Regions from separate parts of the Homo sapiens genome. Here all the other regions are linked to region 2. The links are contacts of gene promoters, found by promoter capture Hi-C in blood cells and fetal thymus (Javierre and others, 2016). All regions are on one chromosome and are shown on one strand. Each heading gives the region's core, a stretch centred on a gene start or on the middle of the fragment in contact. The rest is flanking DNA. Distances are from core to core; before and after follow the strand shown. Region 1 has its middle 94 kb from the start of RFC3. Region 2 holds the start of STARD13 (StAR related lipid transfer domain containing 13). Region 3 has its middle 74 kb from the start of RFC3.

Region 1 (4,221 bases), core at 181-2,680, 440 kb before region 2:
TAAATTGTGTCCCCTCTAAAATTCCATGTGTTGAAGCACTAACCCTAGGGTGACCATATATGGACATAAGCTTTTCAAAGTAATTAAGGTTAAATGAAATCATAAGGGTGGGGTCCTAATCTGATAAGACTGGTGCCCTTATAAGAAGAAGAGACACCAGCGTTCTCTCTGTCTCTCCATGCTTACAGAAAAAAGACCATGTAAGGACATAGCAAGATGGTGACCATTTGCAACCAGAAACCAACCCTACTGGCACCTGGATGTTGGATTTCTATCCTCCAGAACCTGTAGAAAATAAACTTCTGTCCTGTTCTTTTCTTTCTTTCTTTCTTTCTTTCTTTCTTTCTTTCTTTCTTTTTTTTTTAGAGACAGGGTCTCACTCTGTCACCAGGCTGAAGTGCAATGGCGCGACCTTGGTTCACTGCAATCTCCACCTCCCGAGTTTAAGCGATTCTCCTGCCTCAGCCTCCCAAGTAGCTGGGATTACAGGTGTAAGCCACCACGCCTGGCTAATTTTTTTGTATTATTAGTAGACACAGGGTTTCACCATGTCGGCCAGGCTGGTCTCGAACTCCTGACCTCAGGTGATCCACCTGCCTTGACCTCCCAAATTACTGGGATTACAGGTGTGAGCCACCTTGCCCGGCCTAAACTTTTGTTCTTTAAGCCTCCCAGTCTGGGGTATTTTGCTGTGGCAGCCCAAGCAGACTAATACACAACCCAATTAATAAACACTAATAGTGTCTAAAATTATTCCACCATTCTAGAAAATTATTATTTTTTCATTATCCACAGTCATTGCTTTGTCCTGTGACAAAAAAGCCATGTAGCTGGAAGCCATCTGGGTGGCAGTACAGAATTAAGAGCCACTAGAAATTAAGTCCATACTCTCCCTGGAACTCAAATTCTACCAAAAAATAAATTTTAAGTGAAAGTCTAATGGAAGGAAGAAGAACATTTGGAGCAAGTGTGAAATCAACATTCTGCTCCAGGTAGGCACCATTTGATGGGGAGTGATCCTGAGTGCAGGGTTGGGGAACGGGGTGGAACTTTCCTTTGTGCACAGAACTGGGACTAGAAAACAGTGATTAGGAAAGCAGTCAAGTGACTGATAAGTACACAAATGGAATAGCCCTTGGGAGTTTTTGAGATTGCGTTTGTTTGAAGAAAAGAAGAGCATTTTCTTCATATTGATATGACATTGTATTTGCCAACTGGTATTTACTAGAAGCCCTCCAAGTTCATGATTCACACCTGAACATTCCACATTCTTTAAAATTGTAGTGCACCCTTCATAACTATATATTTAGTATTTTTATAAATTAGATTACAATTTAATTGGAGAATACAATATCAGAAAAATTATCCAAAACTTAGAAATATTGCCTAATCAAATGTGCTACTTGTCTGGCCTTCCACAAGAAAGCACATGAGGAACTAAGACATAATTTTTCCTTCTTATTTGTAAAGTCTAATTCAAAGTTATTAGCTCAGCACAGTAAATATACGTGCTAAAGACTGGGTGAACAATGGCAAATAAACTTTGAAGACCAAATCCTCTTTTACAACTAAAAGTAACATTACTGAGCTTTCTGCAGGATTTTCTGGGTAAGTTTTTCTGCATGGCCAGCCCCAGCAAGGCCCCGAATGCCTGGTTTGCTACTTTCTAATCCTGTAACTTCTCTTCCCATAATAATGTGTAGCTTGTAAGGCCTTAGCTCAATTTTCCAGATGATTTCAGAGACAAAGAATTGCTGATTTGTTACACTAATCTTGACATTTCAAATTACAACTGGAAATAATCTTCCTTAATTAGTCATGTTCTTTCTGTTGAAAATATCAGACATTTGACATATTTGTTTAGCAAATATGTCGATTTTCTGGTCTTTATGGTCTTTCAGTCCCATGTTGATATTCACATATTAAATTTTTAGCTTGCTCCACAGCAAAGATGCAAATATATATGTGCATATGTATATTATATATGTACACATATAGTATATGAATCTACAACCATGCTTGGGGAATACAAGGTATAATATGAATATTATATATATATTCATATATATCTATATATATTTATATATGTGAATCTACAACTATACTTGGGGAAAACAAAGACTTTATCCAGGCTCACCCAGAATGGTTATGAGAAAGTGAAACATTCTTTTCTTCCCTTAATAGGCAAATACATAGTTTAAAAGCTACCTCCCCAAATATGGGAGAATCTTTAGAGAAAGTGTTAAATCACAATAGCATTAAATGTACATTTACTATCAAGTCTTTTGCAATAAAAGCTGACATTAACTTTTTCTCTACAATATTTACTATAGCACTGTGCTTACCCAGGCTTTTATTAATATATGTTTATTTCTGCATTTCCATTTCTCAGCTACCTTTTATATTTTAAAAATTACAGAATTTATAGAAGAAAATTGTAGGCTGATAACAAACAAAAAGGTTTTTCGAAATGGCTAGCATTTGCTCCCAGCAGGGAAAGTAAAGGAATAGTTGCTGTATCCTGAGCCACCCATCCCGGCCCAAGTCTTTGTCCTGCTGAAGTGGTAAATTCTCCCAGAAACGCAACACAAGGTGGTGCTGTTGTATTTATCCTAAACCAGCTGCCAGCCTGGCCACTTAGGCTGTCGGTTTGATCTGAAAGTGGTAGGTGTGTACCAAAGGCATGGGTTTTGCATATGTAGATGTTTACAGTGTAGTCCTCCTTTCAGATAAGAAAAGATAAATAGAAGAAGGAGGAAGAGAGTAAGTTTCTCCACACATGGAAGCTTCTGGAGAAACTGTCTTAAAAAAAAAGAAAGTGCATGGGTTCCTTTTGTTACTAAATTATAGGAGCATGGAAAGTTAGGGCTAGAAGAGATAAAACATTATCTAGCCCATCTTCCTATCTTCAGAGAGGATTTCATTTATAAATTATCAGCCAGTTAAACTTTTTCTTTTGGTTTTAAAATTTTCCAGGGAGGGAGATGCCACTTGCTCCCCCAGCAAATCAATACTCCCTAGTGTTGGGAAATTGTTGTGGACATATGTGCACTTCCTCTTGTTCTGAATCCAGAGGGTATGGGAAGGATTTGATCAGCAGATGTGCCTAGTGAATGAGAAGCACACAAAAAAAAAATGAATTACAAGTCAGGGCTCTGGATTCCTCTCCCTCACTTGCTTAGCTGGGACAAGGTGGGCCTCAGATTTTGCATCTGGAAAACAAAGAGATTGGACTAACATCAGTGGGTTTCCACAAATGGCTGGATCTCAAAATCACCGGGGAAGCTTTTTAAAAAAATACAGATTCCAGGGCCTTGCCTATAAATTTGCTCAGTCAGAAAATCTAGGGCAGGGCCCAGAAATTGCACTTAAAAAAAAATCCAAAAGAACTGTTTTCCTTGGAAAACATTTTTCTTGTCTGAAGACATGGAAATTAGCTAAAAATGTGTAGGCAGGCAGCCCAGCACAGATCTAATGACTGGTGCATAGGTACCACTAGATTAAATAACTCTTAAATCCCATCTGATTTTATGATTTTCCAGGTATCCTTAAAACAAAAGCCCTTGAAAAATAGAAGTGAATTATCCCAGATCTAAAGAATTTCCTCTTGAATCATATTCCCAAGCCTTTGAGTAATCTGCAGTATGGATTTACAGCAAGATGTTTTCTAAATTTTTCAAGCACATGAAATTGGGAAGTCCAGGAATATTATTATAGTAAAGAAAATCCAATAAAGTCCTTGTGTTCAGTCCAATGCCTACACGCTATTCTATTTTCTGGTTACTGTAACTATGAATTAGTTGACAGTTATGAAAATAGTATTTGGACTCTTTCACTTTCATTTTTATAAAACTGGAAAGTTAAAAAACTAGTCAAGTACTTGGCCCATGTATAAATAGATAAGTCACATACTGGCAAATTGAGCTGTATAAAAGTTACTTACACAGACAAAAATGTCTCTAAAGTCTCTATGTAAAACGTTGGCTTTCTGACTCTGAGACTGTCTAGTATCAATGTGAAATTCAGTAACAATGCAATTCAGATTCTTATACCTCAAATGTCTCATTTGAAAGAATCAGATAATTGAAGTATCATTTGTTTATTCTCGTTTATAGTATCAAGGTAAATAATTCTGCCTTCCATTTCCCCTTGCTAATGTAATGTGACCTCAATGTTACATGTTACTAAGTAAATCAATTAGGAGATTTGGCCTGTGTATGT
Region 2 (4,223 bases), core at 318-2,817:
CTCATAGCGGGACAGTTATACAAGACGAGCTGCTTCTCAGAATCAGGCTAGCAACAATTCCCTCAGGGAAAGTTGTTAAGGCTTATGGGCCTCGGAGAGCCAGAGTAAGAAGAATCAAAGTCCTAATTTAAATCCTGTTAAACTTTTAATTTGGAAATAATGTAGAAATAATTTCTCATTATTAGACTATAAATTCCCAGCCAGGCTATGTTTCCGTCAGCCAAATGTAGAAGCAACTTGGTCATATACTTTTTGTATCAAAGAACTTTATTCTTTCAGCCCCAGGCTCAGAATTTGATAACATGTTTTCTGTGGACTTTTTCTCTTCACATCAAACAATGTTAAAGAAGAAAAACAGGGAAAATTATAATGACATATACATATATGTCACTCAGTGTGTGTATGTATATATATACACACATATATACACATATATATACACACATATATATATACACGTATATATATACACACACACTCAGATATGGCCAAACTGAATTACTAGCAGTTTGCTTAAACCATATACTCTGGTTCTGGATCTGCACACATGGGTACCTACAGTCTCTTGCAAAGCCCTCCCCAGCCTCTGCCTATCAGAATTCCCCCCATTTTAAAAAGCCTATCCAAATGTCTCTTTCTCTATCTGGCTTGCAATCATCACCCCAGTCAAAAATAATATTGCTCACCTAGCATTGTGTTTGCGTCCTTTTTGAGACATATATATGGCCTCATGTTAGAAGCTTTTGTATAACTTCTCAATGGGTCCTTAGCAGGTTGATGACAGTATCTTTGAAGTACCTTTGCAACTTCTGCAGTGATTCTTGTCTTAAATGATTCAGTGTCTTAAATGTGATAGGCACCTTCTAAGTATTTTACCTCTAGGTGATTAAAAATTGGGGAAGTAGAGAAATCAAAGAGGAAAGGATGCTTAATACGTAACGCGTGTGTACTTTGCCTCTCTGAGTCTTATCTGTAAGAGCCCTCCAATTCCCATCACGTGAGGGTCAGGATCTGTGGTGTATTCACTCCTGGTGTTAAAGCCCTTGAAGTTTATTTTTCACTGGAAAAGTTTTTATTTGAGTTGTTTCTTGATAATGAAGGTGGTGGCTTACGCTCAGCTGTTGATGCTTGTTTGAAGTAGTTTTTTTTTGTTGTGTTGTGTTTTTTAAATTTAAGAGATTTATCAGGTCCATCTTTTACCTGGCTGCTGCTGCCCTGTAGAAAGCGAAGGAGCTTTCTCTAACTTTGACAGGCTGAAAAGTTTCCTGAGCCCTGGACTTGTTTGTCTTCTACTTGTTTTGCCCTTCCCTCTCTCTTTTTCTTTCGACTCCTTTAGTGAGGGCTGCTTTTGGGTGCTTCGTCAGCTCTGAGGCACGTCAAATACGTGTATTTTGCTTTCAGCGTTGTGTGAGGGACCCTGGCGGCTGGAACTGCCTCTGGTCGGGGCTTAGGGCTGACTGCAAACGTTCCCATTTTCCTCTCTTCCTCTCATTGGTTCCCGAGGTCACGTGAGGGCCCCGGGGGTTGGAATTCTGAGTTGTGGCTTTGGCACTCCTCTTTCTTTTTAAAAATCGCTGGGTCTGTTGAGCTGTCCTGGGCTGGGTGCCTTGCTCTTTGACTGAGACTGGAGACAGACGGCAACAGCCACAGGCAGACTGAGGTGGCAATAGGAAATCTGCCGAGATGTTCAGTCAGGTGCCCAGGACCCCAGCCTCAGGCTGCTACTACCTAAATTCCATGACACCTGAGGGCCAGGAGATGTACTTGCGATTTGATCAGACTACAAGACGCTCTCCTTACAGGATGAGCCGGATTCTAGCACGCCATCAGCTAGTGACTAAAATTCAACAAGGTGAGTGGCCGGCAGTGGAAGGCTGTTGCTCATTCTGATTTCTGTTGGCTCTATTTCATGCTAACCCAGTTTTTTTTGTTTGTTTGTTTCCACTTTATAACATATGGATTTCTATGCCACACTACCCGTAACTTTGAAAAATAACTTTAGGCTGCAGTTTTCAGCAAACAGGACAGTCCTTAGCTGCCACATAGCTCAACATAAAGTGCACAAAAAACTTCACGGTGGGACAGTGAATCATAAATTCCCAAACTGACGTGTGTCTACAGAACAGATGAGAACTGTTACTCAGTGTGTATCTTAGGAGCTTTTCTGCAGTTTCCTCACACTCCGTCACATTTAAAATGTGGACACTTGTTTATTTCATTAGGGAGGAGGCGAGGGACTAATGTCCACCCTGCCCAGAGTATTTCGAATATCCTTAGTGAAGAGGAGGAAAGCAAGAATTCTGTTCTAAAGGCCACCAGGCTAAGCACTAGAATCGCATTCTCTTCCTGTTTGTATGTTTATGTCAGCAGTTGCCACAGATGTGTTAATATTGTTTTCCTGGTAGAGAATTAAGGTGTTCGTTCATCTCAAAACAAATCCCGTAACCTGCACACAAAACTCCAGCTTCCTAATGCAAAGAGAAGAGAATATTGATTATAAGCTGCTTGATATTCTTTTTATTCCCAGCCCCTCAAAATACCAGCCTGGAAGTCTGGACATTACTAAAATTTACCAGTCTCAAAAAAAAAAAAAATTTAAAACATGCTCCTTATAGGGTATATCAGTAGAAAGCAGAAAGACGAACATTCCTAAGAAGCCCCTAACACACACGTTTACAGTCAGTTAATGATCACCCTCCTCCTAGACTACAAAAAAGAAATTATTATATTGGTGCTAAATAAGTTAACCAGGAATTTTTAGAGCCGTTCCTAAGAAGCCCCTAACACACGTTGACAGTCAGTTAATGATCACCCTCCTCCTACACAACAAAAAAAGAAATTATTATATTGGTGCTAAATAAGTTAACCAGGAATTTTTAGAGCCATTATAAAAATACAGTTTCCACTTAAATAAATGAGTTTAAGATTATATTGAATATTAAAGAGGAAGTTGGGGTTTGTAATCATGAAAATCTTATTGTAATGTTTCCAGAAAGAACAATATGTATTCTAGCGGGCAGCATTTGATGAGATTGTTTCCTTGGAAATTAGGATTTGTTTGTAAAGGTTCAGGAACTAGTTATGTGTGAAGGATGCTGGTCCTTCCTACATGCTGGTCTGATTTCAGGAAGGATATTATGTCATTGCATAAACTCTGTGTCCAGGTCTTGATTGAATAGAAACAAAAGTAATTATTTCCCTGTGGCTAGATTTAAAAATACTTTAGGCTTAGAATAAAAACCAGCTCCACTTTGGTTTTAGAAATTTCTGACAATGGTGCCTTTCCAAATGCCATCATCTTTATGAACACCGAGGCTTAATGATGCGCTATCATCTACAAGATATAAATGTTCCTCAGCATGCATATCATATGAGAAATATTGCAGAGAACTAGCTGAAATTGCTTTGCAGACCTCCTTAGATGTATTTACAATAATTTATTTTATTTAAATATTATTTATGTTCTTTTTGGAATGAGGGTTATTTTTCCATTCAAGATTTGAAGTTGTGAACACATGCACTATCACTGAACGTGCCCTGTCACACAGACATATGGGCACCCTCAGTTTATGTTTCATTTTTGTCTAATTAGGTAATTTGAGAATTCCCTCTTTTTTATACTGGGCAATGGAGTGTTTGAAGTCAATGAATGCCTAACACTTAAAACTGACAGTTAAGATCACAGGGAAGCAATAAAGATTTCCAACAGTCTTGTGATTCAGAAATCATTATGTGTTAACATCATACAACTCTTTAGTAAGACAATGAGAAAGCAATGTGAAACAATTTTATTGAGTTTATTGTATTAGAAGATTGGTTTACTGTAATTTCAGAGAATGTGGATTAAACAGTTACAGCATACCAAAATCATTGTAGTTAATTTTTTTTATTATGCCCATTTTACAGATGAGAAAACAGAGGCACACAGATTTCAAGCATCTTATCCAAGGTCACCCAGTAGGAACTGATACTTGAATACAGCTTGACAGTCCATGCTCTGCAATACACTAGACTATTTTTTAGTTTTTATAATGAGTGCTAAAGTACTGAACCTATGATTGAGTTTCAGATTATATAATATACTAGAGACTTTTTAGACTTTTCTACTCAGGATACAGCAATACACTATATTATAGGACCAGAATTGGTCACTCATTATGAAATTTCCTGTCAGGTTATATTTCTCTAGTGGAAACAAAGTGCTACATGTTTTATTCTCTTTA
Region 3 (4,863 bases), core at 1,228-3,727, 460 kb before region 2:
ATGTATGCCATGGGCTGCTGCTGCTGCTGCTGTTTCATATCACTTGGCACTGCTGAGAAGGCTGGCAGTGAGGCTGGTTAAATTTGTAATAAGTTGTTCATTTCTGCATAAAGGAAAAATGGAACAGCAATTTTTCTTTTCTAATGTTCAGTTACCACTGTCCTTTATGTGAAACGATAACAATGGACTCCCTCCCATCAGCATCTTTGAAACACTCTCCTCCTGTGGAGACGACTGGCCTGTGGTTGTGCAGCAGAGCAGACATGCTCATTTCTGTCGTCAGGTCACCATGTTCCCTGCAGGTGTGTGGCTCATCGTAATCCTCTATGCTTGCACTTAATGGGTTTTTTTTTGCAAGATTAAAAATGCAGGTGTAGCACACATCATTAATCCCCAATTTCAGTTAACTGAACTGTGTGTGTATTTATGCAGCTGCTGACTCCTGAGACACCCACTTGGAAAGAAGACAAAAGTTCTGAATGTACCTTTCTGTAATTCAGTAAACATACAGAGTACAAATTAAAAAAAAAAAATTAAGGATTTTTAATTCAACAGCCTTGCCAATGGGGGCACTGGCCACAAACACACTTGTTCATGAAAAGATCTATTTCAAGTATTCTCCTGGAAGCAAGAACCAGTATCTGGAATGTAGGCAGCATTTGTTCTTTAAACAAAATTAAAGTTTTACAGGAATGCAATGCTGTGTACTCATTAAAAAAAAATTACAAGTAGAAAAATCTGGAAAGAATCCATTTTGTGCTGTGTCTTTCCGACTGGAGGTTGTAAGTGGTAGCCCCTCCCCTGCCCTGGAGGACTTCCCTGCTCCACCCAGCTGCTCTAATCCCATATACTTCCTGCCTGGAATCCTCCTGAAGCTGCTTCCATCTTCTACCCCACTTCCTCTTGCTGAGCAGCATAGTAACTACCGTTCACATCACCTCCACTATGTTCATCATTCTGTGAAGTAAATAAAAGTGGAGGAAAGGCCCCACTACAGAAGATGAGGTGCAAAAAATGCCACCTCAGAATGTGGCATATTGACATACTGAGTGAAGCATGCTGAAGGAAATTGAGAAAACCTCAGAAGCAAGATAGTCTCTCTGACCTTCTCCCACCCCTTCTCCCCTACAGTGGGACATAGAAACTGAAATTCCTCTTGTCCCTCTCTCCCCTGAAGTGGGCCTTAAAACCTAGGAAGGTTACCTCTGACCTACTCCCACCCTCCTCCCCTGAAGATTTTCATGTGACAGGTGTCTTGTCCTATAGCTGGAGGGAAGGAATGTCACACAGAGAGGCCAAGAGGAATCTGAACAAGCAGGCCTTACCAAGTACCCCCCGCTTATTACCACTTGATCATATCCTTTTGCCTCCAGTCATACTTCTGCATGACTGTCCATAAAAATCCACACTTTTCCCTGGGTCTTTGAGTTTTCATTACTGAAGGTGCCTATGTCACTTAAAACTTGCATTAAATAAATGTGTTATGCTTTTCTCTTGCTAATCCGTATTTTGTTATGGGCCTCAGCCATGAACTGTGAGAGATAAAGAAAAGATACTAAGTTTTCTCCCCTACATAGATGAGGAAGTTGCAACTCAGCAAGAATCAGTGACTTTCCAAGGTCCCATCTTTTCTGAAGGATGCTCCAAGCACCCTGAGTGCACACGCAGGGAACTGGAAGGCCACAGCTCACTCTGCACCCAAACCTGCAGGAAGAAGTTTCTCTAGGAACCAGTCAGGGGCAAGTTGTAGGACTCTTAGCAATAACCTCTGCTGCAGGGTGGAAGAAGCTTCTGCCTGGAAGGCCAGGGGAATGAGGGAGGCTGAATGAGTTTGCCCTCTCCACCAACTCGCCCCACTCTGTCACCACAGCTCCAGTTGTCTCTTTCAGTTCTCATGAAGAGCTCCCAGTTACATGTTAGCTTATTCTCATTGTTTCTAAAGTCTGAGGTGACAGACAGGAAGTCTGTTGATTGTGAAAGATCAGATCCATAATCATCAAAACATACTTGCCCTGGCAATGTCAGTGTGCGAGAGCAGTACCATTCGTTCACATATCCTCCTTCTCTAAACCACCCTCTGTTTCACAATGAAGCCCCGAATTTTCCATATGGCTGGTCTGGACCCTGCATGAGTTCATCATTTCTTGTTTTACCCACTCAGCAAACATTTATGGAGCCATTACTCTGCTGGAGGCTGTTTACAAAGAGTCAAATAAAGCAACATCTCTTATCTCTCCCTTTCCCCCTTCTCTTCCCACTGAGAGCTCACAACATAACAGGTTCTCCAGCTTTCTTCTTCCTGGTTGAGCTGAGCCATTGCAAGCCCCAGGCATCCCAGGGCCTCACCTGGGACTCTACACACACTGATGAATGGGTGGAGGCCGAGTTCACTGTCAGTGTGGAGACTACTCTATGTGGGGCTGTAACACCTGCAAGGGAAAGGGATGGGGCGTCCTGAGTGAGTTACTGGGCTGAGCCACCTGGGAAGGCTAGAGGCTGGAGAGGAGCCATTTCAGCCTGGGTGGCTTGTGGCATTTGTGGGTAAAACTTGGGTGACCAGCAGTATGCAGAACAAATTGCAGAGAAGAGTCAGCCCTCAGATTTCTGATTTGTTAGCCTGCAAAAAGGTGGATAGCCACTCTCACCCCTCATATTTGTACCTGTAAAATCATTCAACCAGCTGGCTGGCTTCCACACTTGCTCCCTCTCAGTCTCTTTGCTACAGGGCAGCCAACATAGCCTAGAAATGCACCAAGCCCTTCTCAATACTTCCATGGGCTTCTCACCACAGTTAGAATAAAATCCAGCTTTAAACTGGACTACAAGGGCCTGAGTTACTTGGCCCTCAGCCTCCATCCTAACTCCTAACACTCCTCTGTCTCCCTCTCAGCCACTTTAGGTCCTTGCTGCCTTCAAGCACTCCCATCTCATTTTCTTTGTCCAGTTCCTCTTCCCTCTAGATGTTCTTGGTTGGATTTAGAACTCAATTCAGATCTCACCTCTTCAGAGGCTCTTTCTGACCACCACTGTTTAAGATAACACTCCCTGCCTCCCTTTTCCTCTTCCCCTGCTTTTCAAAAATATATTTCATAGAATTTATCTCTACCTGATTCTATTCTATACCCATTTATTGTTTGTCTATCATACCCACTAGAATGTAAGCTTCATGAGGGCAGGGGTCTAATCCTAATCACTGTTCTCTCTTCAATGCCCAGGATAGTGCTCTCACAAAGCAGGGGATTGATAAACATACGTTGAATAACTGTGTGAATTAACTAACTTGGAAATGCTGTCAGGCTATATTAAAAAGCGTAAGTCCACTAACAGATTTGGATTTACACATGTGATCAATTACAGAACAATCCAATGAGCACACGTGCTGAGCTAATCCAGCCACTGATTTTACTTTATCTCCAACTAACCAATTTAATGAGATTGTCTTAGTCTGCATGTGTTTCTATAAAGGAATACCTGAGGCTGGGTAATTTGCAAAGAAAAGGGATTTATTTGCCTCATGGTTCTGCAGGCTGTACAAGAAGCATGGCGCCAGCATCTGCATCTGGTGGGGGCCTCAGACTGCCTCCACTTATGGTGGGAAGTGAGTGCAGAGATCACCTGGTGAGAGAGGAAGCACAGGGACAGGAAGAAGGTAGTCTCTTTTTAATAACAAGCTCTCATGGGAACTAATAGAGCCGAAACTTACTCATTACCTTGAAGATGGCACCAAGCCATTCATGAGGGATCTGACCCTGTGACGCAAAAACTTCCCATTAGGCCTCACCTCCAACATTGAGGATTATATTTCAATCTGAGGTTTGAAGGGTCAAATATCCAAACTATAGCATTAACTAAAACAATACTAGGAAATTAATTGATTAAGTTTTTGATAAGTACTAAAAAAGATGGCTTACCATGTGCCATGAAATTAATTAATGGCAACTCAATGTGTTGTGGGATGCCAGAATGGCTTCCCTGAGGAAGTGACATCTAAGCCAAAGTCAAAAGGGTGAGAAGGAGTTATCCAACTTAGGAAGAAGAGATGAGTCTTCCTGGAGGTGAGCAGCACATGCAAGGGCCCTGGGGTGGCTTTCAGTTTAGTTTATTGGAGAAAGTGAGAGAAGAATCTGTGTGGCTAGGTGAAGAGAAGGAGTAAGACAGGAAATGAAGCTGACAAAGCTGGGAGGACCCACACAAGCCTCACACAAGCCCACTAAGAGATGTAAGAAAGGTGACGTGATCAGATTTGCTTTTTTAAACATCTGTTTTTATGTAGCATGGAGGAGAGACTGGAATACGGCAAAACTGGAAACAGGAAGGCCAATTAGGAGGCTATTGAAGTAATTAAGACAAGATATCATGACAGTTTGGACTACTGAAGTGATGCCATAGATGGAGAAACACAGTAGATTCCAAAAGTGATTCAGAGATAAAATAGGCTGTGTTGGTGACCAGACCTGAGAGAGCAGGGAAGAAGGAGGTATCAGGAATGGTTCCTATCTGTTATGAGTTGAATTATATGCCCTTTCCAAATTCATGTGTTGGGGTTCTAACCCACATCAAAATGTGACCTTATTTGGAAACAAGGTTGTTGCAGATGTAATTAGTGAAACCAAGATGAGATTATCCTGGAGTATGGGGGGCTCCTAACCTGGTATGGCAGGTACTCTTATGAAGGGGAAATCAGAGCACAGACATGCACATAGGGAGAACACCCCCTGACACATGAAGGTGAAAGCAGAGATAGGAGTGATATTTGCAAGCCAAAGAATGCCAGAAGATTGCCAGCAAACCCCTAGAAACTAGGGGAAAGGCCTGGAGTAGATTCTAACAGGCCTCAGAAGGACGCAACCTGGACAACACCTT

What was found. Contacts are between HindIII fragments. The CHiCAGO score rates a contact against its expected background, and 5 or more counts as called.
Region 1: a contact is called between a fragment that was not itself captured here and the fragment with the promoter of STARD13 in region 2, in 5 of 17 cell types (endothelial precursors, M1 macrophages, M2 macrophages and 2 more). The highest score is 11.1, in endothelial precursors.
Region 3: a contact is called between a fragment that was not itself captured here and the fragment with the promoter of STARD13 in region 2, in 2 of 17 cell types (activated CD4 T cells and non-activated CD4 T cells). The highest score is 5.8, in activated CD4 T cells.

Annotation. Positions count from the first base shown.
Region 1 is chr13:33,722,399-33,726,619 of GRCh38, reverse strand. No RefSeq gene overlaps it. Among named protein-coding and RNA genes, the nearest start is that of RFC3, 94 kb to the left of the region's middle. RefSeq lists a silencer at 2,506-2,675. The HindIII fragment of the contact is 2,716 bases long and covers 73-2,788 here.
Region 2 is chr13:33,283,099-33,287,321 of GRCh38, reverse strand. STARD13 (StAR related lipid transfer domain containing 13) reads left to right here and starts at 1,567. Exons shown (of 14, transcript NM_178006.4): 1 at 1,567-1,852. The coding sequence starts at 1,684. RefSeq lists enhancers at 1,265-1,394, 1,405-1,464. The HindIII fragment of the contact is 3,531 bases long and covers 743-4,223 here.
Region 3 is chr13:33,741,227-33,746,089 of GRCh38, reverse strand. No RefSeq gene overlaps it. Among named protein-coding and RNA genes, the nearest start is that of RFC3, 74 kb to the left of the region's middle. The HindIII fragment of the contact is 1,374 bases long and covers 1,791-3,164 here.